6 separate regions of the Homo sapiens genome follow, and all the other regions are linked to region 1. Evidence: promoter capture Hi-C in 16 types of primary human blood cells and fetal thymus (Javierre and others, 2016). All regions are on one chromosome and are shown on one strand. Each heading gives the region's core, a stretch centred on a gene start or on the middle of the fragment in contact. The rest is flanking DNA. Distances are from core to core; before and after follow the strand shown.

Region 1 (3,488 bases), core at 982-3,481:
ATGCCTTTTAATCGTTTTGCTAAAGAATAATTAAAATGTCTCTAAATTTGGCAGTCTAAACAAATCTCAAAATATACTAACCCAATAGTTTCTTAAGCTAAAGTTTCTTAAAATGTTCACACTCTTAAACTCTCCACATCCATTTTCCTCACTAGGAGTTAAAAAACTTGACAGAAGTTTATTACTACTACTTTCAATACCAGGCCAACCGATTTGTTCCCTAACAGGGAAATTCATTAGCTCTTCACTAGAGCTAATGATTGAAGGTGAGAAAACATACTGAGGGTTAGCTTAATCAAAAGATAGCCAGAAATTCCCAAAAGAAATAGAAGCAGAGTTAACTTAAATTTACAAATGATTGTAAGAATCACATTCTATTGCTTGATTTCGTTTACACCATCCAATTAAAAAATTAAAAAAAGCCAGAGATACTGGTGTGTTTTTAAACTTGAATGAAAGTGTTCACCTTTTCCTTATTAGCCATTTCAGAAACTTTTGATGATGAATAACATGGTTTAAAGATGGGCAAGACCAAGAAGAAAGAGGAAAGAAAATACACAGTCTACAAATATAACTAGGCAGCCCCAGAAAGAGATGGAAATGAATACAAGCTTCAGTATCTACAAATTTAAATTTAAAATGAGGTGAGTGGATTTATCTCTTACAGGCACTTCTCCGTACCCAACACAGTAAGTAGAAAGGGGAGGATTTTATTAAAAACAGGAGACGGGTATTAAAAGGATTCAGAATGAAAGGTAATAAGTCAATTGTTTTTGTTCTCAAAAACTTCTATCATTCTTCCAATAAAAATCCCTCAGCCAGGCGAGTGTTTTCTCTTCCCCTTGTTTATGTATTATTTTATGTGAGCAACAACTCTACAATTTCAGTGCTTCTGGAATCCATAAGGCATCCATAAAAATGAAAATAGTGTTGGTGCTTTGCAGAAATAAGCAAAACAGGAAACTTAATTTCTATTTTAATATAACAAACAGCAAATCGCCTAGACTGAAGAAGCATCTTTTCAGTCATCAATTGTCACACATCTTTGAAGAAATTCCCTGGGAGGAAAGAATGGCTTTTCCAAGTACGGTGACAGCAGTCCCTCGACTTACAAGCTTTCTCTGCTCCTCAAAAAACTCCAGAAGTGCCTGGGATTAACAGAAACTCCGTAAAACTTAAGGAGTGCTTTAGGGACAAAGCACTCTTCCCGCCTTGAAAATACAGCATTTACCTTCCCGTCACTAAGGGGCATTACCAAAAACTACTACACACACTACATCTAAGACACCCTCTCCACCAAACCAATTGAAAAAGTGCTTCATAACACACATACACACACGCCCCCCAAGTTTCCAAAAACAGCGGCCCGAGTGTACTTGGGATCAAACGCTGTGCGAGAAATGTCCAGGAGAACTACTGCTTATACATTACTCTTACCTTCATGACCACTCACGTTTTAAAATCGCACGTCCGGAACGCATCACATCCGACGTGCTTTATCCCCTTACCACACTAAGAACGCAAAGACTGGCGGCAAATCGGAGCAACTTACTTACCATCAATCTGAACACCCACCCCAAACCCTGCACCGTCTCCAAGGGGTAGAGGAACTGAGTACAAAGGCACTTGGTGGTTCCCTCTACCTTGGCACCTCTCTCTCTCCCACTGAGTCTCTGTAAATTCCAAAATACACCATGAAAATCTCCGCACAGAGCACTACCAGACCAGTCAGATGGAGAGTCGAGAAGTAATCGGTTTGTCCCTTCCACGGGGGCCTTGGAAACCCGGACCCTAAAAGCCAAAATGACCAGGGGGTGTGACCTGGGCTGCTCCCTCCCATTTACTCCCCTCACGGGAACTCCCTTGTCGTCGCGGCTACTCACCAGACCAGAGAGCACAGAAAGAGGCAGGAGACCAGGGCCAAGGCCCGCCGGTGCTTCTTCATCTTCTCCTCCTTCTTCCCCCTGCCAGAAGGCGGCACATCCTCCCGGCAGCCGCCACTGCCGAGGCCAAGATGGAGGAGCCGGAGCAGGAGCGCGAGAATGTGACCGATAGTCCTAAGGGCTATGGCGCTGGCTGAGCGGCTCCTCAGTGGCTCGCGTCCTGGCAGCCCTCTCTGAGGGCCCCACAGAGGCGCGGACAGGGGCGCTTCACAGGACTCCGGGGACCGCCGCCGCTGCAGCCACCGGCTCGTCCACGCCCGCCTCCTGCAGCCGCCACTGCCGCCCCATATCCTCCCCGCCCGCCGGGGGCCTTGCTCCGTGAGGCCAGCGACCAACGGCCGCCGCGTACTCGCCTCTCAACAGCCAATCGCCGGCGGGGCCGCGACACCTCACACACCGCTGAGCTGGAAAGGGACGCGTCACCCAAGTCCCGCGGCGCCCGCACCCCCACCAGCCTCTGCGCAGGCCACGCCCCCTTCGACGTCGCAGGCGGAGAAGCCGGAGGCAGGAGACCACAAAGCGCAGGAGCAGATGCTCTCGCCGCTCCGCCCGCCCCAGGTCCCGCCCACTTGCTGGCTTGCGTTCAGAAAGCCGGGAGGAGCCCAGTGATCCTCAGCATTTCCCCTTACAGTGGACCGCCCTTCGTCCCTCGCGCGCTGAGTCCGCGCAAGGGCCTTTGGGAGTTGTAGTTTGCCTTCCAGAATTCGTTTTTCTCTTTCCCAGTCCCTCCTAGAATCCATGGTTTTGTTAGAGAAGTCTATAGTTTCGCTGCTCACCACGAGACTGATCAGCTTTGGAACTGTTGCACTGTTTTCCTCTTTTGAGCACAGTTCGTGGAATGGCCTAGAATGACGTGTGTGTTGTGAGGGAAGCTGCACCAAGCCCTTTCCCTGTGGCAATGGACTGCCCCATTGAGCTAGATGTTGATTGGTAGATAGAAAGGGGCGTGCCAAGAATCCTCTCATCTGATTGGTTGCAGCGGAAAACCTTTCGCTTTTTCTTCTCTTCAGCAAGAATTTCGCCGCTTGCCGGGTTCCTCACTTTAAGTGTGCTTCGTTGCTTTTCGTTCTGTTGGTTTCGAACTTTGGGTTCTCTGCGATGGAGTCGGAAGGGAGGAGTTGTCCCCATTAGAGGAGCACCCACAGACGCTCCAAGTCCTGGGGTTCACCTAAAGTGGGGAAGGCAGTCGCTTACACTCACCTAAGAAGAGCAAAAAGTGACCACTTCTCAATACTAAGTAACGGGGCAGCATGCCCATTCCAAGTGTTTACGCCGCTGAGGGGACGGAGGCTGCAATGGTCTGTGCCTTGGAACATGGCATAATGTTTAGTGTGAAAAATGTTTAAAGGACGGGTTACTTATTGTTCATGTGGCCGTAGGGAAAAAACCCTCAGTAAAATGCCCACCTAACGCCTAATTTTGAGCCGCGGAATTTCCTTATGAACCTTCTAAGTTGAATTGGATGTTAATTATAGTCCCAAAGAACTGAATGATTTGATCCGCTCTGTGATTCTTGGATATAAGTCAATTTGATGTTAGAGAAAT
Region 2 (3,273 bases), core at 124-2,623, 1.0 Mb after region 1:
GACATGAACAAGGTGCCATCTTGGAGGCGGAGATCCTGCCTGTCGATAACTTGATCTTGGACTTTCCAGCCTTCAGTACCAACAGAAATTAATTTCTGTTATTTATAAGTTACCCAGTCTCAGGCATTTTGTTACAGCAGCATGAATGGACTAAGAGAGGAAGTCAGAAGAGAATGAGGAGGAGAGCAGAAAGGACTGGTGATTTCAGTTAAGGTTGACTAAAAGCTCTAGCAATAAAATAGTAATTATTGGCAGGGCATAGTGGCTCATGCCTGTAATTCCAGGAATTTCGGAAGCCGAGGCGGAAGGATGGCTTGAGCTCAGGAGTTCAAGACCAGCCTGGGCAACACAGCAAGACTTTGTCTTTTCTTAAAAAAAAAAAAAAAAAAAAAAAATTAGCTGGGTATGGTGGCTCATGCCTGTAGTCCCAGCTACTTGGCAGGCCAAGATGGGAGGCTCACTGGAGCCTAGGAGGTTGAGGCTACAGTGAGCCATGATTGTGCCACTGCACTCCAGCCTGGGGGACAAAAGGAGACCTTGTATCCCCCCACTGCCCCACCAAAATCTGAGCTCCAAAGATATAGTATAACGTAAAAATACCCGATTAGGGCCACGCGCAGTGGCTTACACCTGTAATACCAGCACTTTGAAAGGCGAAGGTGGGAGGACCACTTGAGCCCAGGAGTTCAAGACCAATCTGGGTAACATGGTGAGACCTCATCTCTACAAAAAATAAAATTTAGCCAGGCCTGGTGGCACATGCCTGTCTCCCAGATGCTCAGGAGACTGAGACAGAAGGATCGCTTGAGCCTAGGAGGTTGAGGCTACAGTGAGCCATGACTGTGCCACTGTATTACAGCCTCGGCAATAGACAGAGTAAGACCCTGTCTCAAAATAAATAAATAAAAATAAAAATAAAAACCAGATTAGGACTAAGAAGGGCTTAAAGCCTAAATCACTGAAAATTACCAATGAAGAAGCAATCTTAGAGAAGTAAAGTAATTTGCTCAAAACACACAGAGCTGGAAAGTGGTAGAGTCAAGATTAAATCCAGGCTGACTTCAAAGCCAGTGCCCAACATAATCTCATTATTTAAAAAATCAGGATTGAACTTTCATTTTGAGAAATTAACAAACTGAAATATAAAACAATAAATGTCACTTAAGAGACCCTAAATGATTCATGTTTTCATTATCAAACATACTGCATTACAATATAGAATAAGATATCAAAGATAAAACACAATAGCAACAAAACATAGCAACATCTCTATTAACAAATGTATTGGTGGGGCATGGTGGCTCATGCTTGTAATCCCAGCACTCTGGGAGGCAGAGGTGGGAGGATAGCTTGAGCAATGGAGTTTGAGACCAGCCTGAGCAACATGGAGAGACCTTGTCTCTACCAAAAAAATAGCCAGGTGTGGTGGCACATGCGTGTGGTCCCAACCAGGAGATTGAAGCAGGAGGATCGCTTGAGCCTGGGAGGTTGAGGCTACAGTGAGCCAATGATTGCACCACTGCACTCTAGCCTGGGTAACAGAGTGAGACCTTGTCAAAACAAAACACACACACACACACACACACACACACACACACACACGCCCCAAATGTATCGATTTGCTGCTAGAAATGTCATTTTGTAATACAAGTAAGGAATAAGAGCTTGTGAAATAAATTTAAAGTTTCTGGTGATGACAGGGTTTAGACAGCAGCCATTAAAAACCAAGCACAGAGTGCATGTGTGTGCCTATGTGCATACTATACAGAAAATAATAAAGTAAATATGGTAAAATATTAACAAGTGGGGAATCTGAATGAAGGAATATGGTAATTCTTTGTATTATTTTTGTAACTTGTAAAAAACAAGAATCAGGCCAGGCGCAGTGGCTCACATCTGTAATCCTAGCACTCTGGGAGGCCAAGGCAGGTGGATCACTTGAGGTCAGGACTTCCAGACCAGCCTGGCCAACATGGCAAAATACCATCTCTACTAAAAATACAAAAATTAGCTGGGTGTGGTGGCGTGCACCTGTAGTCTCAGCTACTAGGGAGGCTGAGGCAAGAGAATCGCTTGCACCCGGGAGGCAGAGGCTGTAGTGAGCCAAGATAGCACCACTGTACTCCAGCCAGGGCAACAGGGGGAGACCCTGCAAAAAAAAAAAAAAAAAAAAAAAAGGCACAAAAATCAAAGCTCTAAAAATCGTAAAGGGGGCAGGGGTGCTGATGGACTGATGGGTGCCCCCCTGACATTCATATGTTGAATCCCTAAATCCCCTGGGCTGATATTTGGAGATGGGGCCTTGGTGAGGTAATTAGATTTAGATGAGGTTGTACGGGCCATGAGGGGATTAGTGTCCTTATAAAAAGAGATACCAGAGCTTGCTCTCTTCTCCATTAGAGAATACAGTCAGAAGGTGGCTGTGTGCAAGCTAGGAAGAGCCCTCACCAGAACTACTATGCTGGCACCCTGATCTCAGACTTCCAGCCTCCAAAACTGTCAGAAATAAATTTCTGTTTTTTAAGCCATCCAGTCTATACTATTTTGTTATGGCAGCCTGAACTATGATGAGGGGAGACTGATGCATTAACTTCAAAAACCAGAATTTTATCACTCAAATTTTAACTAAATTGCCCATTTAAAATAAAAAAGCCCAAATATTCACCACACTCCTAGTTCCAAGTGAATCAGCATCCACAAAATATAAACCTTAAAAAAATTTAGTCACTTCCTTCCCTCAATCCACTTGATTTTTTAAGACTACTGAAAGTACTAGTCATTTACATACTTCTCCTTAAATAAACTTAATACAAATGAGAATCACACAATGTTTGAAGTAGAAAATCATTTTATATTTAAAAGAATGTGGTCAATATGAAATAATTTGGCCTGGATATGTTGGACCCTGTCCTTTTCCATGTCAATAACTTGAATAAAGACTTGGAAAGTAAACATGGCATATGAAATAATATATACATCTGAAGGAGTACCAATGTATTCCATGACCAAGATTTTTAAAGGTCTTAGAATGCTAGGCAGAATTAAACAATTAGTTATACAGTCATATTAACAGTTCAGAAACTGGATTTCATAAATGCAGAATACAGACCCAGACTGTCATGTGAAAAAGGTTCTAGCTGTGACAGCTAGTAGTGTGACAATACTGCTTTATAAAATTTTAATAGAAATCTAATGCACAGATTTGGAGTCATAACAGTTCCACTGAATTTTATGTTTGTCACAGTATGTTTAGAGTATTATGCTCAACTCCAG
Region 3 (3,333 bases), core at 787-3,286, 1.5 Mb before region 1:
GATTTTTTGAATGATGGAGAAATAACAACTTTCTATGGCTCCTGATGTTGTGACTTTTTTGCAGATATTTCAGAAAGGACACCGTTTTTCAGGTGCTCAAATCTGTGATTTTTTTTTTTTTTCTGTGCTAATTTTGTTAGGTCAGCACAGATTCCAAGTAAAGTCTGTGTTATAATGATACTTAAATTTATGTATGGCCCTAAACCTATTAGAACAATTGTAGTAATTTATAGGTTGTAAGTTTTAAGTGGTTCATGTGCTGTGTTATGAAAACAATCTCACCGTGTTATGTCAAGGGCAGATTTACCTCATATTTAATATCATTTTCCTGAAAATAAATATTTTTAAGTGGTAAGGTTTTGTATTTCAGATTGGTTATTGACCCAGCAATTTATGGGCTTAGTCTGGGTCCGTATTTCTGTTCAATAGGAAAAAAATTTAGGGAATTGTTTTTATTTATTTTGTGTCAAAACAGTTTTAAGTTTTGACACAAACTCAACTGTCCCTTCTTCAGTATCAATACTTATTACTTAAGTTCACATTTTCTCAGGTAATAAAAATTTACTTCTAAGAAGTTTTGGAACCAGAGCTTAAGAATTAGATTTATATTTTCTTGGTAATATTAAAAGTTAATATATGCTTGATTTATTTGAAGAAATAAAAAAGGGTAATTTGTACACAACGCCTTTCAGAACATATTTGTTGAATGAATAAAAATATTTAAGCTTCCTCATTATGCTGCAGTATTAGTTCTGTTGTCCTCATTTTTTCATATGAAGAATGTGAAGCTAAGAGTAGCTATGTAACCAGCAAAAAGATCACATAATTAATAGGTAAAAGAGCTTACTCAGACTCAGATCTTGTGACACAAATTAGATTCTTTGCCACTACCACATGTGTCACAGTTAAACTTTGAAGCATCTTCTGTGTTGACAGATTCCTTTTTTTGCCTGTGAACTTACCCTATTATCATTATTTGTATCCTGTCAGATATCTACTTGTAAGACCAAGAAAGTATTTGTTCATGTGAATCACAAAAGAAACACTTAAATTTTTGTTTTTAGCATATCTGAATGCTATAAAATATAAAAACTCATACTGTTTACATAGGACAGATTTATCATACTGCTGTAATTGTTTTCATGGTTAATTTGTTACATAGGCAATTACTAAATTGTGCCTTTGAAATACTTTATAAATTTTTTTAAATAATTAAAGATATTCAATGATGTTAAAGTTGGGTCAGCTAATATTTGAAGTTCTTAATTTATAATTTTTTTTCTTTAAGCCATAGATAATTTAGAATTCTGCAGTATTTTTCATCTCCAGATCTTAGGGCTTGAAATGGATTCTGATGGGTCTAATCAGTCCACTCTTGCATATATCTTGAAAATGGTCAGCATCCAACAAAGTGAAGAATAAACTGATAAATGATCCCTGTTTGGTGAACACCTCAGATCAGGATGTTCCTTGGCAGGGTATTCTGACCTGGTTTAGCTTTGGCCCCGTCTGTGCTCAGGGTTCAGGTATTCTGCAGGATTGGGTTCAGAGGGATTAAAATTCTCAGATTGGCCTGTATCAAAACAGTCACAGATTTTGGTCAGCCTTTTCCCAGAACCGTCTCCAAGATTTTTTCTTTTGTGTAATTCTGGAATCTAGGCTGGATTTGGACTAGCTTTAGAGGTTATGATAAAAGATTAATTTTGTCAGGCATTTATACAAAGGAGGTTTTCTTACTACAGAGTTTCTTAAGGTAGATTCCTTCTATTTTTGAAGTGTGACATTTACCAATCTGAAGTAATGTTGCCCTACATCCCCCAGACACTTAACTTTAGCATATTTATTTCTGTCCATTTTTGGTCAGGATTGTGCCTGTTTACTTATATAATATTCTTGTTTACTTTTTGTTTATTAGATACTTCTTATTAGTTTATATTGTTTTCCTGATTGAGGCTTGGGGAAAGAATTTTCCTCAAATTTAAAGTCACCTTACTTATTTGCAGATGTATGTCAGAGCAATATTCTTTTGACAGTTATCAAGCATTTTAGCAATGCTGTATGTATATATTATGAATGAATGACAGAGTCACTCATGGTCTGTCACCCAGGCTGGAGTGCAGTGGCATTATCATAGCTCACTTCAGCCTCAAACTCCTTGGTTTAAGTGTTATTCCCGCCTTACCTGGCTACTTTTTTTAATTTTTATTATTTTTATAGAGATAGCATTTTGCTGTGTTGCCCAGGGTGGTCTCAAACTCCTGGGAGCAAGGTGATCCTCCCACTTCTGCCTCCCAAAGTGCTGAGATTACAGGCATAACAATGTTTTAAACTGACACTGGTATACCTTCACTGATTATTACTGTGCACATGTGGTAATAATTTAACTTATAAGTGCATTTTATCTAAAAAATTTCCAAGATCTAAATAGCATTTGAACATGGTAGCAGTTTTTTTTTTTTTTTTTTTTTTTTTTTGAGCAAGAAAAGAGTTCTAAAGGGGTCAGTTTTATCTACAGATTAACATAATTTTTTTTATTGAGGTTAAGTCACATAACATTAACCATTTTAAAGTAAACAGTTTAGGTGGCACTTTATACATTCACAATGTTGTTCAACCACCAGCTCTAATTCCAGAATGTGTTCATTACCCCAAAAGGAAACACTGTACCCATTAAGCAGTTACTCTGTATTCCCCTCTTCCCTAATCCCTAGCAAACGCCATTCTGCTTTCTGTCTCTAATTTGAGCCAACATCGAGGAAGAGTACTCTGTACAATTGAAATTGCAGAAAAAACTTTGGGATGTGATTGTTAGGAATAAAAAACCACCTAATTCTTTGCATGCTTCTCTAAGTACAGTAGACATGCTGCCAGGGACTCTTTATGGAAGAAAAGTTGAGACTCATAGAAGTTTGCAGTTTTGTTTTGATCACCCCAGAGGGTTTTGCTCAAACTCTTAGACTCATTTGTATTTCTTCATTGGGTTATAAGAACTAAAATTTAATGTTCTATACAAATGTGAACAACTAATACTTGGTCTCCTATCTAGAACTTGTTTGCCTTTTAGGTTTTCTTAATGTATAGAAGAAACTAGGAATATTCACAAAGGATTTATTTGAAGTTACACTGGGAAACGATTTTTAGAATTTGAAGCTCTTTGATCCCTGTGAATCTAACTTTATGACTATTTTATTCAGCTAATCTTTGAGAATATTTAGAGTTTTGATTTGCGTGGCACTCTGCTTTTAATCCCTTGTTGAATAAGTGTTAGAAACCTTGATCTTGGCCCTATACCTGATCACCTCTAAAAACATGAACAGTGTTACAAAGGCAGTT
Region 4 (3,487 bases), core at 616-3,115, 1.6 Mb before region 1:
ACAAGTAATGAAAAATTAGCCAAGCATGTTGGTGTGTGCCTATATAGTCCCAGCCACTTGGGGGCTGAGGCAGAAGAACTGTTAGAGGCCAGGAAATCAAGGATGCAGTGAGCTGTGATGGCACCACAGCACTCAGTTTGAGTAACGGGAGTGAGATGCTGTCTCCAAATTAAAAAAAAAAAAAAAAGTAGTTCAAATGTCACCTCTTCTTTTATCCTTAAAACTAAAAGTAGACCGGGCACGGTGGCTCACGCCTGTAATCCCAGCACTTTGGGAGGCTGAGGCGGATGGATCACCTGAGGTCAGAAGTTCAAAACCAGCCGGGCCAACATGGCGAAACCCCGTCTGTACTAAAAATACAAAAATTAGCCTGGTGTGGCAGTTGGCGCCTGTAATCCCAGCTACTCAGGGAGGCTGACGCAGGAGAATCACTTGAACCTGGGAGGCAGAGGTTGCAGTGAGCCGAGATTGTACCACTGTACTCCAGCCTGGGTCAAAAACGAAAAACAAACAAACAAACAAAAATAAAAGTAATCTCTCCCTCCTCTCTAAACTCTTATAGTTCCTTATCTTTATCTTTTTACCACCCATTACTTTCTGCCTTTCATTATCACTGTTGTTTCCATATTTAATCCCCCACCTAAGCATAAAGTCCTCAGGGTCAAGGTCCATCTTTATTCAAACTGATTAACACAATCCCTTATACACACTAAGTGAGGTTAGGAAAGAAGCCCACCAGAAACAACTCCAGATTGAGTCCAGAGCCCTGGCTTTGCTAATAACTCACTATCTGACCTTGGCCTTGAGGCTCTTAGTATGTTCCTTCACTTACAAAGTTAAGAGGGTAGGCTAAACTAGTTGTATTTGTTGTTAAATGTAGGCTATAATCCATTAGCTGGGTGTAAAATTAATTTGGAAGTCAAAACCCAGCATTTTTAAAATGAAATGAAATAACAGAATATATCAATGTGTGTTATAAGCAGTGGGGTGCTATAAATGTTTAACAACTACCTATGAGGAGGGAAGCCCTAAGAATACCATTTGCTGAATTTCCTGGTGTAAATATTCCCACCATGACCAATTTTGAGCTACCAACATGATGTCACTGGACAAAGAGCTAGATAGGAAGAAATATGCACAACTGGTCTTGCAAGCCATTATAGCTAACTCAGTAGGGCCCTGAAAAGATAAATATTATTTCACCAAACTTTCAACTTTGTGTGTGTGTGCGCTTGCGGAATCAAGTAGTAAAATGTATTTTTTATTGTGGGTCACAGTCAAATGAGTTTAATAAATGTTCAGGTAAACAATCTCCTGGTGTCCTTCATGTATACTACATAATTTGATAAATCTTACTCTTGGTTACAGATGTCTCTTCACCACAATTCATATTTTTCTTCAAAAATGGGAGTAACAAACTGATATCACCAGAAGGCAAATTACACAGAGCAGGAATTTGGTTTATGGAATATCAGCCAAGTGCCAAGGTTTTTAGCATTTGTTCAGCCCTACATACCTGAAGGATATAACACACTCCTACTATCAATGGCTCACTTAGCAATGGGTTGGGGGGCAGGTAGGGGGTAAGAGGAGGAAATCCATAGTATAAAAAAAAAATCCAGATAATTCTAGTATTTGTGCTCATGTTCCCACCCCACTGAATACCCAGATACACAGAAAATTAGAGCAGTAAAAAGTAAATGTTCCATGCCTGATGTTTCCCAATCAAATTCCCTTGCATCCCTCAATGAGACTTCCATTACTAAGAATCACCTACTGGAACTAAGCTTTTACCATGGACTAGGGATGCATAGTTCTTGCTGAATTTAGAACAGGCAACAGGGAAAATAACACAGCAAACAGTTGTTAGGCTTCATATTCTGGGAAAATCAGCCTTTTATTAAAAAAAAAAACTGTCTTATTTTCCTCTTATTTAAGCTTACTAAACTGGGTGAGAATTTTCTTAAATATATTTTTGGCTGTACTATGTCTATCACAACACAGCCTGTAACCAGATTTTTCATGAGTATTTATAAAGAATTGTGTTGTTGTTGGGTTTTTTTTTTTTTTAAGCCCAACAGCACTGGCAAATGTTTTCTACTTTAAAAGCTATTTAGAAAATAAGAAGGCTCAGAATTTCAAGTATACTAATAATCTTAGCCCAAATCTAACTCTAAATCAACTGAATATATGCCTAGAACTTTCCCAGGAAAATCCCCAAAAAGTACACCAAAAAACACCAAAAGATAACAAAAAAGAGTTAGCATGCGCATAAACTTCGTATACCCAATTATGCCATCCCATCTGTTGAATAAGAGCAATATGGGAAGTAAACGAAGTATAAAAAGAAGATGTTCAGAGATGCAAGCTCTTCTTAATTCATTAACTCTTCCTTATTAGGGTCCACTGATGTTCACATACTTATACCCAATTCAAATACTGACTATAAAGTCAAAATTATTTCCCGTTCTGAAAGTCTAGGAGTCAAACAATGTCTTTCTCTATAATATCAGCATTAAAACTCTCCTTTAAAAATGAGTATGTTTTACCATAACTCAGGCTCAAGTCCGTACTTTCTCCGCCTCCACTGTTTGTAATGGCAAAATGCTCATCAGATCATCTCCACAAGAAACCCCTGAGCCATCTTTGAAATACCAGCACCTGGTGCGCTGCACCCACTAACTCATCATCTAGCATTAGGTATATCTCCCAATGCTATCCCTCCCCCCTCCCCCCTCCCCACCACAGTCCCCAGAGTGTGATATTCCCCTTCCTGTGTCCATGTGATCTCATTGTTCAATTCCCAGCATGGCACATGTATACATATGTAACTAACCTGCACAATGTGCACATGTACCCTAAAACTTAAAGTATAATTAAAAAAAAAAAAAAAAAAAAAAAAAACAGAAAGAGAAAAAAAAAAAAAAAGAAATACCAGCACCTGGAATAGCCTTGGGCTGCTGGTCATCCTCAGACTCAACGGCTGACCCATTTATATAAGTCAAGAGTTATAAAAATATAGAACTCATTAAAATTAAGACATAAGCAAGCTCTGTGCCTGGGAATCCCATAGGCTTACAGCAACAACTTCATTCTCCAAACCCCCTCTAACCAGTCATAATGATCCATACCCCACTTGAAGACAATGGTAGGTTGGAATGCAGGCCCACTTCTACACCTTCAATATAGGAAATTTTTGCTACTTAGCCACTACTCTCTTCAAAGTCAATCTCTTGAAGCCTAGCTATCTCCCACACATATTTTTACTTGGCACAACAGAATTCCTTCTTTTGATTACTCCAAAAGCATGGATAAAAGGACTTTCTGCTTCAATGCTGTATCATCTGAGAGTTCAAATAAATATACAATGGCTGAGCAAATTCAAGTTTGGGTTAAGGCAAAGAAAAAAATTCAAGTTTTTTAAAAGTCACAAATTTAGAACTGGAGAGCTGATCACATGAAAACTCCTGTTTCACATGCCTAATAA
Region 5 (3,361 bases), core at 482-2,981, 1.5 Mb before region 1:
CTTTCTACTACCTTTAAAGATGGTGCTTTTGGCTGGGCGTGGTGGCTCATGCCTATATAATCCCTGCACTTTGGGAGGCTGAGGCTGATCACTTGAGACCAGGAGTTTGAGACCTGGCCTACGTGGTGAAACCCCATCTCTACTAAAAATGCAAAAATTAGCCAGGCATGGTGTTGCACATCTGTAATCCCAGCTACTCTGCATGAGAATGGCTTGAACCTAGGAGGTGGAGGTTGCAGTGAGCCAAAATCGTGCCACTGTACTCCAGCCTGGGCAACAGAATGAGAATCTGTGTCAAAAACACAAAAACAAAAAAAGATGATGCCTTTGAGTCTGGTCACATCATTCTGCCACCTCTTTGATAATTAATGAGGGCTAATGCCCTCTTTAGTGTAGCACATTTGTATATAATGCATAACTTGAACCTGGAGATTCAAACTACATACGTAAAGTTAAAGACTGTCTTACTTTCTCAGGCACTCTGTTTCAAACTCAGGTCAGGCGGCTTCTCCATGAATGATTTTGTCCTTTCTTACTACTTCTCCTCAATCTGGTATTAGGTTGGAGATAGAAATTTTTCTTTTTGCCTCTGAACGCTGAAAAAGTAAGCAACCTGAATTAACCCCTTGAACTTTCCTCCACCTTTCTTTATCAAGTTCTATTTTTCAAGCTATTTTTTCCCTCTAACTCAGAAGCCCTTCTCTTTATGCCTGTCCCAAGTATTTATCCATTTGTACTAACATAATCATATTAAATTATTTACATCCAGGATTTTGTATATATAGGGTTACAATTCAGTCCATACATTTTGGGAAGATGTATTTTTACAATCAAAACTGGGTCTTTGTTCACAAGATATTATTGCTGGAAAAACCTTGAGCCTCAAATTTTAGACTCTATTTCCACTGTAAATTAGTTGATGCTCTGCTGAGGATTAAAAAATTAAGTGTTATAATAGGCCTTCATTAGTTTTCTTCTTTGTGTTTTTATCTCCTGCTTCTAGCTTCATTTTTCAAGGCAGTGAAACATTTTCTCTTCTCTGATGTGGCCCTACATGCTGGTTGCTATGGAAATGTTCCAGAGAAATGAAAAATTAAGTTAAGGTCAAGAATAATGAGTTAAAATCTCATCTCATCGGGCATAGTGGGAAGAGAGCCAAGATTTTCTTCTTACAGACAGTGTGGTTTTGTTTGATAAAAACATTTTTCACAGGCCAACTTATATTTCAGATATGTAAGACCTGGTGTTAATCCCAGCTCAACAGTTTATTGATTTGGGGCCGTTACTTAATGCCGCCAAACCTCAAGTTATCTTCTGTAAAATGGGCATAGTAATGCCTCAGAGGAGTGCCTGGCTCAGAGTAGATAGTTGAATTTTAATTTCCATTTTTCTCTCTCTAAATCAGGAACATATAAAATGAACCTATAATAAAGGAGATGGTAATAAATGTGTCATATGTTTAAATGAAATCTTCACAGCAATGTAATTTAGCTATTTAATAGGGCTATTGCTGTGCTCATAGAACAGATTCGAATAGTTTCTATGTTTCTACATTATTACTTAACATTTTTGAAAACTAAGACTATTAAAAAGCCCTTAATGACTATTTTAACAGCTTTATTGAAGTATAATTTACATACCATAGAATTCACTTATTTTAAATACACAAATGATTTTTAGTAAATTTACAGAGTTGTGCAACCATTACTACCATACAATTTTAAGGCATTTCTGTCACTCCCAAGAGCTCCCTTGCCATAATTACTATAAACTTTTATTCGTGTGGTGGCACAAATTATAGAGTTTCAAAGTACCAGCCTGGGAGTTTGGCTGTCCTGAGTTTGAGTCTTAGTCGTGCCACTTTCTAGCTTTGTGACTTGGGTACTTTGGTTTCCTTATCTTTAAAATGGGCATAATAACTACATTACAGTGTTACTGTGAACATTAATTAGATACTGTATATAGAGCACTGAAAGTATAATATCCTAGTTTTTGCTTCACAAATGTTGGTTATTGGTGGTAGTCCACATTGTGGATATTTAAATAAGAGAAACATCTGAAAACACCTAGCACAGTGACTGACACATGATTGATTTTCAGAAAACAAAGCTGTTCTACGTCTTTCCAGATGCATCATGTCATCACAATTTTGTCTGTAGTTGCTCATTGACAATGTTTTAATCATACTTAAACATCGATGCTCACAATATGTAGTTATTTGTTATTTTGCAGAGGCATACATTTGAATTTAACAGCTAAGGGAGCTGTAAGACTTGGAGTTTGGTATCTACAAACTAGTTACTTAGCTGGTGGACCCAAGCAAGTAGCCTTGTTGTTTATAATTCATATCTTTCTTTCTCTCTCTCTCTTTTTTTTTTTTTTGGTGGAGTTTTGCTCTCATTGCCCAGGCTGGAGTGCAATGGCACGATCTCGGCTCACCGCAACCTCTGCCTCCCAGGTTCAAGTGATTCTCCTGCCTTGGCCTCGCGAGTAGCTGGGATTACAGGCATGTGCCTGCTAATTTTTGTATTTTTAGTAGAGACAGGGTTTCTCTATGTTGGTCAAGCTGGTCTCAAACTCCTGACCTCAGGTGATCTGCCAACCTCAGCCTCCCAAAGTCCTGGGATTACAGGTGTGAGCCACCACGCCCAACAGTTTTTTTTTTTAGAGATGGGGTTTCTCTGTGTTGCCCAGGCTGCAGTGCAGTGGTGTGGTCATAGCTCACTGAAACCTTGAACTCCTGGGATCAAGCATACCTCCCACCTCAGCCTCCTGAGTAGCTGGGACTACAAGTACGTGCCACCACACTCTGCTCATTTTTTATTTTGCTTATAGAGACAAGGTCTTGCCTTTTTGGCCAGGTTGATCTCAAACTCCTGGTCTCAAGTGATCCTCCCACCTCAGCCACCCAAAAGTGCTGAGATTGCAGGCGTGAACCACAGCACCTAGCTGAAATAATTTTTTTATTTTGATAATAAGATCTTTATTTCTTTGTTAAGAAAAAAAACCTGAGTAAAGTCAAATGGTAATATTAGTGATAAAAGTTTAGAGATTTAAGAAAGTGGTGGTTCTTAACCAGAATTTAGACATTGGGATAAATTAATAGTGAAATGTCAGATGTGATATTCTGTACTGTAGCTTCAGTCAATGCCATGAACAAGGCATATAACTGAATAAAGCAGTCTTTTCAGTGTTTTCTGTGAGCACTCTTTAGTGGTGTAAAAATGTGTATATATAATTGGGGAAATTATATGGTATTTTTGAACTTGGGTCTTAGGTCAGACCCTTGAACTGATTGCTATTTAATTATCATGTATATTCTGTATTAGCAATTATCAACAGTAAAATCTCGTCATTTTTG
Region 6 (3,408 bases), core at 249-2,748, 1.1 Mb after region 1:
CTCTGGCTGTCGCTTGTAGCATTTCTTAAAGTATACGAGACTTTTTATGTATCTGCTGCCCAACCAATTGGGTATATGTATAAATAAAACTATCTGATGTCAAATATTTTATTGCTTCATAGTAATTAAGAGAAGTAAGATTGATAGTACTTTTTTTGGTTACCATTGGGACTAGGTATTTTGAATAATTTTTAGGCTTGTGGTGGAAGAGAGAATTTCATATGTTACAATGCCACCAGTAGCTTGTACCTAGTTTGGTTTTTTGGTTTGTTTCTCTTTCTCTTCTCTATTTTTTTTTTTTTTTGAGATGGACCCTCGCTCTGTCACCCAGACTGGAGTGCAGTGGCGCAATCTCGGCTCACTGCAAGCTCCACCTCCTGGGTTCACGCCATTCTCCTGCCTCAGCCTCCAGAGTAGCTGGGACTACAGGCTCTTCTCTATTCTTTTTTCTGCTGGGGTTAATTAAATGATTGTTTCAGAAATATTTCTATGAGCTGCTGAGAGTCTTAGTGAATAATTGCTTCAAATGGGAATTAGTGCAATTCTCTAGAGGTTGGACCATTGTTAACTTCATAGGGCATGGTCTTGATAGAAGAGAGAAAGGGGAATAGTGATTGAAAGAGAATTGAGAGAAAGCATCTCAAAGTATTTAGCAGCCTTGGGGAATTGCAGTGAAATGAAACTCTTCATTTCAATATTCCATAAAAAACAAAAGAACAATATTCCATATTACCTATGTATTAGCCAGGTGTGTGCCTATAATCTCAGCTACTTGAGAGGCTGAGGCTGGAGGATCTCTTGACCCCAGGCGTTTGAGGCTGCAGTGAGCTATGATCTTGCCACTGCTTTCCAGCCTGGAAAACAGAGCAAAACTCTGTCAAAAAAAAAAAAAAAAAAAAAAAAAAAAGTCATGATATATCAGGCTAAGGAAGACATAAAAATGAATAAAACAGTTTAAATTCCTGTTCTCAGGAGATTCTATTCAAGTGGGATGAGAGTGGGGTGAAATTATAAGTAATTATGATTAAAAGTGACATATTAGTCAGGGTCCTTCAGAGAAACAGAACCAATAGGATACGTAGACCAACAGGCTGGAGACCCAGGGAAGAGACAAAGTTGTAGTTTAAGTCAAAAGGCTGCCACACTTAAGAATTCCTTTGGGGGAGATCAGTCTTTTTTCCATTAGGCCTTCACTTGATTGTATGAGGCCCACTCACATTATGAAGGTCAAAATACATCCATTTACAGTTAATATAATCACCCCCCCACCCCCTCCCACAAAACAAAAACACTTTTATAGGCCGGATGAAGCAGCTCATGCCTGTAATCCCAGCACTTTGGAAGGCCAAGGCAGGTGGATCACTTGAGGTTAGGAGTTTGAGACCACACTGGCCAACATGGTGAAACCTCAGCTCTACTAAAAATACAAAACTTAGCCAGGTGTGATGGCGCATGCCTGTAATCCCACCTACTTGGGAGGCTGACGCAGGAGAATTGATCGAACCTGGGAGGTGGTGGTTGCAGTGAGCCGAGATTGGGCCACCACACTCTACCCTGGGCAACAAAGCGAGACTCTGTCTCAAAAAACAAATAAACAAACAAACAAAAAACACCTCTTTTATAGAAACATTCAGGATAATGTTTGACCAAATATTGACATAGTAGCCCAGCCAAGTTGACACAGAAAAATAACCATCACAGGTGATAAATTCTCTGATGAGAGAATTAAAAGTGCCTTGTGAGTCCAAAGGAAGGCACCTAACCCACATTTGCAGGGATGGTGGGGGTCAGGGAATGTAGCCATAATAGATCTATTGCAAGTCAATATGCAGGGTTGCAGCAGAGAAAGATTTAATCATTGGGCCATGAGGAGTTTAGGGCTTGGGTTTTTAAGGGTTTCAGAGTGGGCAGAAGTGTAGAGATAGTTGATTGGTTGAAGAGTGCAGAGTAAAGTCATGGGGCAGGAGATGAAGAAACCATATTCTCATGCTGACTAGGCTGCTCTGTGGAGATCTTTAAACTAGTTGGTGTCAGCTGTTCTGTCTGGAATTCAGGATCTGTTTAAGCAGTTTTTTTTTGTTTGTTTTTTGAGACAGAGTCTCGCTCTTGTCACCCAGGCTGGAGTGTAATGGTGAGATCCCAGCTCACTGCAACCTCTGCCTCCTGGGTTCAAGTGATTCTTGTGCCTCTGCCTCCCAAGTAGCTGGGATTACAGATGCCCACCACCACACCTGGCTAATTTTCGTATTTTTAGCAGAGACAGGGTTTCACCATGTTGGCCAGGCTAGTCTTGAACTCCTGAACTTAGGTGATCTGCCCACCTTAGCCTCCCAAAGTGCTGGGATTACAGGCATGAGCAGCCGTGCCCGACTTTAAGCGGTTCTTAAAAGCCTAATGATTTTAATGTTAGAAATCCTATCTATAGGGAAAATCAAGACGCAAATGGTCAGTATCTACTGTTATGCGACTTTCACTTACAAGGAAGTGGGTCATAGCGCAGCCTGATTAATGCTTATAACTACATTTCTGCCCAGAATTAAGCCCCAACAGTTTATAGGAATTAGATACTCATGTGAATATATGTTATGAGTGAGGGTGTGTGTCTGTATGTGTGTGTGTGCAGATATGACAGGAAGTGATGGGGCAAGTTTTGGGGAAAGGGAGGCAGTTAACTTGCATATAGTGAAGGGTGAAGAATGTTTCAGGCAGAGAGACCAGCGTATGGAAAGATCCCAAAAGCCAAATGGAGCATGGCATGTTTGAGGATTTTAAAAAGCATCTTGATAGCTCTGTTGTTCATAAAGTAAAAGGGAAGAGGTGGAGGGGGGAGAAAGGTGAAAAAAGGGGCAAAAAAGCAAAACTTCAGAGATGATCAGAGACCAGATTGCAAAAAGTCATGTAAACTGACTTTGTATGACTGAGGGCAATAGGAGCCAATGATTAGATTTAAACTGGGATATTACGTAATCTAGATAAAATGTGTAAGTTTTATGATATCACATAGGAAAGACAGCTTAATATATTTTATTCCTTAGTGACTTTTTCTTTCAACAAGTATTAATTGAGTATAAACTATGTACCAGTGATTGTGCTAGCTGCTGGAGCTGTAAATGGTTAATGTCTGAAGCTTTTCTTTAGCTGAAATGTGAAGAATGGTTTGCCTGGCACAAGAGCAGCTGTTTCAGGGGCTGTAATGATAATCCAAGGAGTAGTGAGAGGAGGCTTGAATCCTGCAGTAGGGGTTGAGAGAAGTAGGCAGGGCTGGATTGTTTCCTCAGATTGTTTTTACTTCCACAGAAACTCCATCATTATTCTCTTAAGAAACTAGGGAGTTACTCTTGCAATGGTGTGATTTCAGAAGGCAAGCATTCTAAAACCCATTTGTGACCATTAAATGCAGAATGTATT

What was found. The method cuts DNA at HindIII sites, captures the fragments that hold promoters and counts their contacts. A CHiCAGO score of 5 or more calls a contact.
Region 2: a fragment that was not itself captured here is called in contact with the fragment with the promoter of SUCO in region 1 in 1 of 17 cell types (neutrophils); the score reaches 5.6 in neutrophils.
Region 3: a fragment that was not itself captured here is called in contact with the fragment with the promoter of SUCO in region 1 in 2 of 17 cell types (total B cells and total CD4 T cells); the score reaches 6.7 in total B cells.
Region 4: a fragment that was not itself captured here is called in contact with the fragment with the promoter of SUCO in region 1 in 2 of 17 cell types (fetal thymus and total CD8 T cells); the score reaches 6.9 in fetal thymus.
Region 5: a contact is called between a fragment that was not itself captured here and the fragment with the promoter of SUCO in region 1, in 1 of 17 cell types (monocytes). The highest score is 5.3, in monocytes.
Region 6: a contact is called between a fragment that was not itself captured here and the fragment with the promoter of SUCO in region 1, in 1 of 17 cell types (neutrophils). The highest score is 6.1, in neutrophils.

What each region holds. Positions count from the first base shown.
Region 1 is chr1:172,531,893-172,535,380 of GRCh38, reverse strand. SUCO (SUN domain containing ossification factor) reads right to left here and starts at 2,231. Exons shown (of 24, transcript NM_014283.5): 1 at 1,884-2,231. The coding sequence starts at 1,945. RefSeq lists enhancers at 1,843-2,002, 2,613-2,862, 2,923-3,032 and a silencer at 2,123-2,292. The HindIII fragment of the contact is 4,223 bases long and covers 1,118-3,488 here.
Region 2 is chr1:171,495,104-171,498,376 of GRCh38, reverse strand. The region is part of intron 1 of PRRC2C (proline rich coiled-coil 2C); the gene reads right to left. Among named protein-coding and RNA genes, the nearest start is that of PRRC2C, 11 kb to the right of the region's middle. The HindIII fragment of the contact is 4,223 bases long and covers 1-3,273 here.
Region 3 is chr1:174,016,925-174,020,257 of GRCh38, reverse strand. All of the region lies in intron 1 of RC3H1 (ring finger and CCCH-type domains 1), which reads left to right. Among named protein-coding and RNA genes, the nearest start is that of RC3H1, 3.8 kb to the left of the region's middle. The HindIII fragment of the contact is 2,618 bases long and covers 728-3,333 here.
Region 4 is chr1:174,162,195-174,165,681 of GRCh38, reverse strand. The region is part of intron 1 of RABGAP1L (RAB GTPase activating protein 1 like); the gene reads right to left. Among named protein-coding and RNA genes, the nearest start is that of RABGAP1L, 4.4 kb to the right of the region's middle. The HindIII fragment of the contact is 151 bases long and covers 1,790-1,940 here.
Region 5 is chr1:173,998,400-174,001,760 of GRCh38, reverse strand. The region is part of intron 1 of RC3H1 (ring finger and CCCH-type domains 1); the gene reads left to right. Among named protein-coding and RNA genes, the nearest start is that of RC3H1, 22 kb to the left of the region's middle. The HindIII fragment of the contact is 4,144 bases long and covers 1-3,361 here.
Region 6 is chr1:171,476,584-171,479,991 of GRCh38, reverse strand. No RefSeq gene overlaps it. Among named protein-coding and RNA genes, the nearest start is that of PRRC2C, 7.2 kb to the left of the region's middle. The HindIII fragment of the contact is 3,263 bases long and covers 1-3,129 here.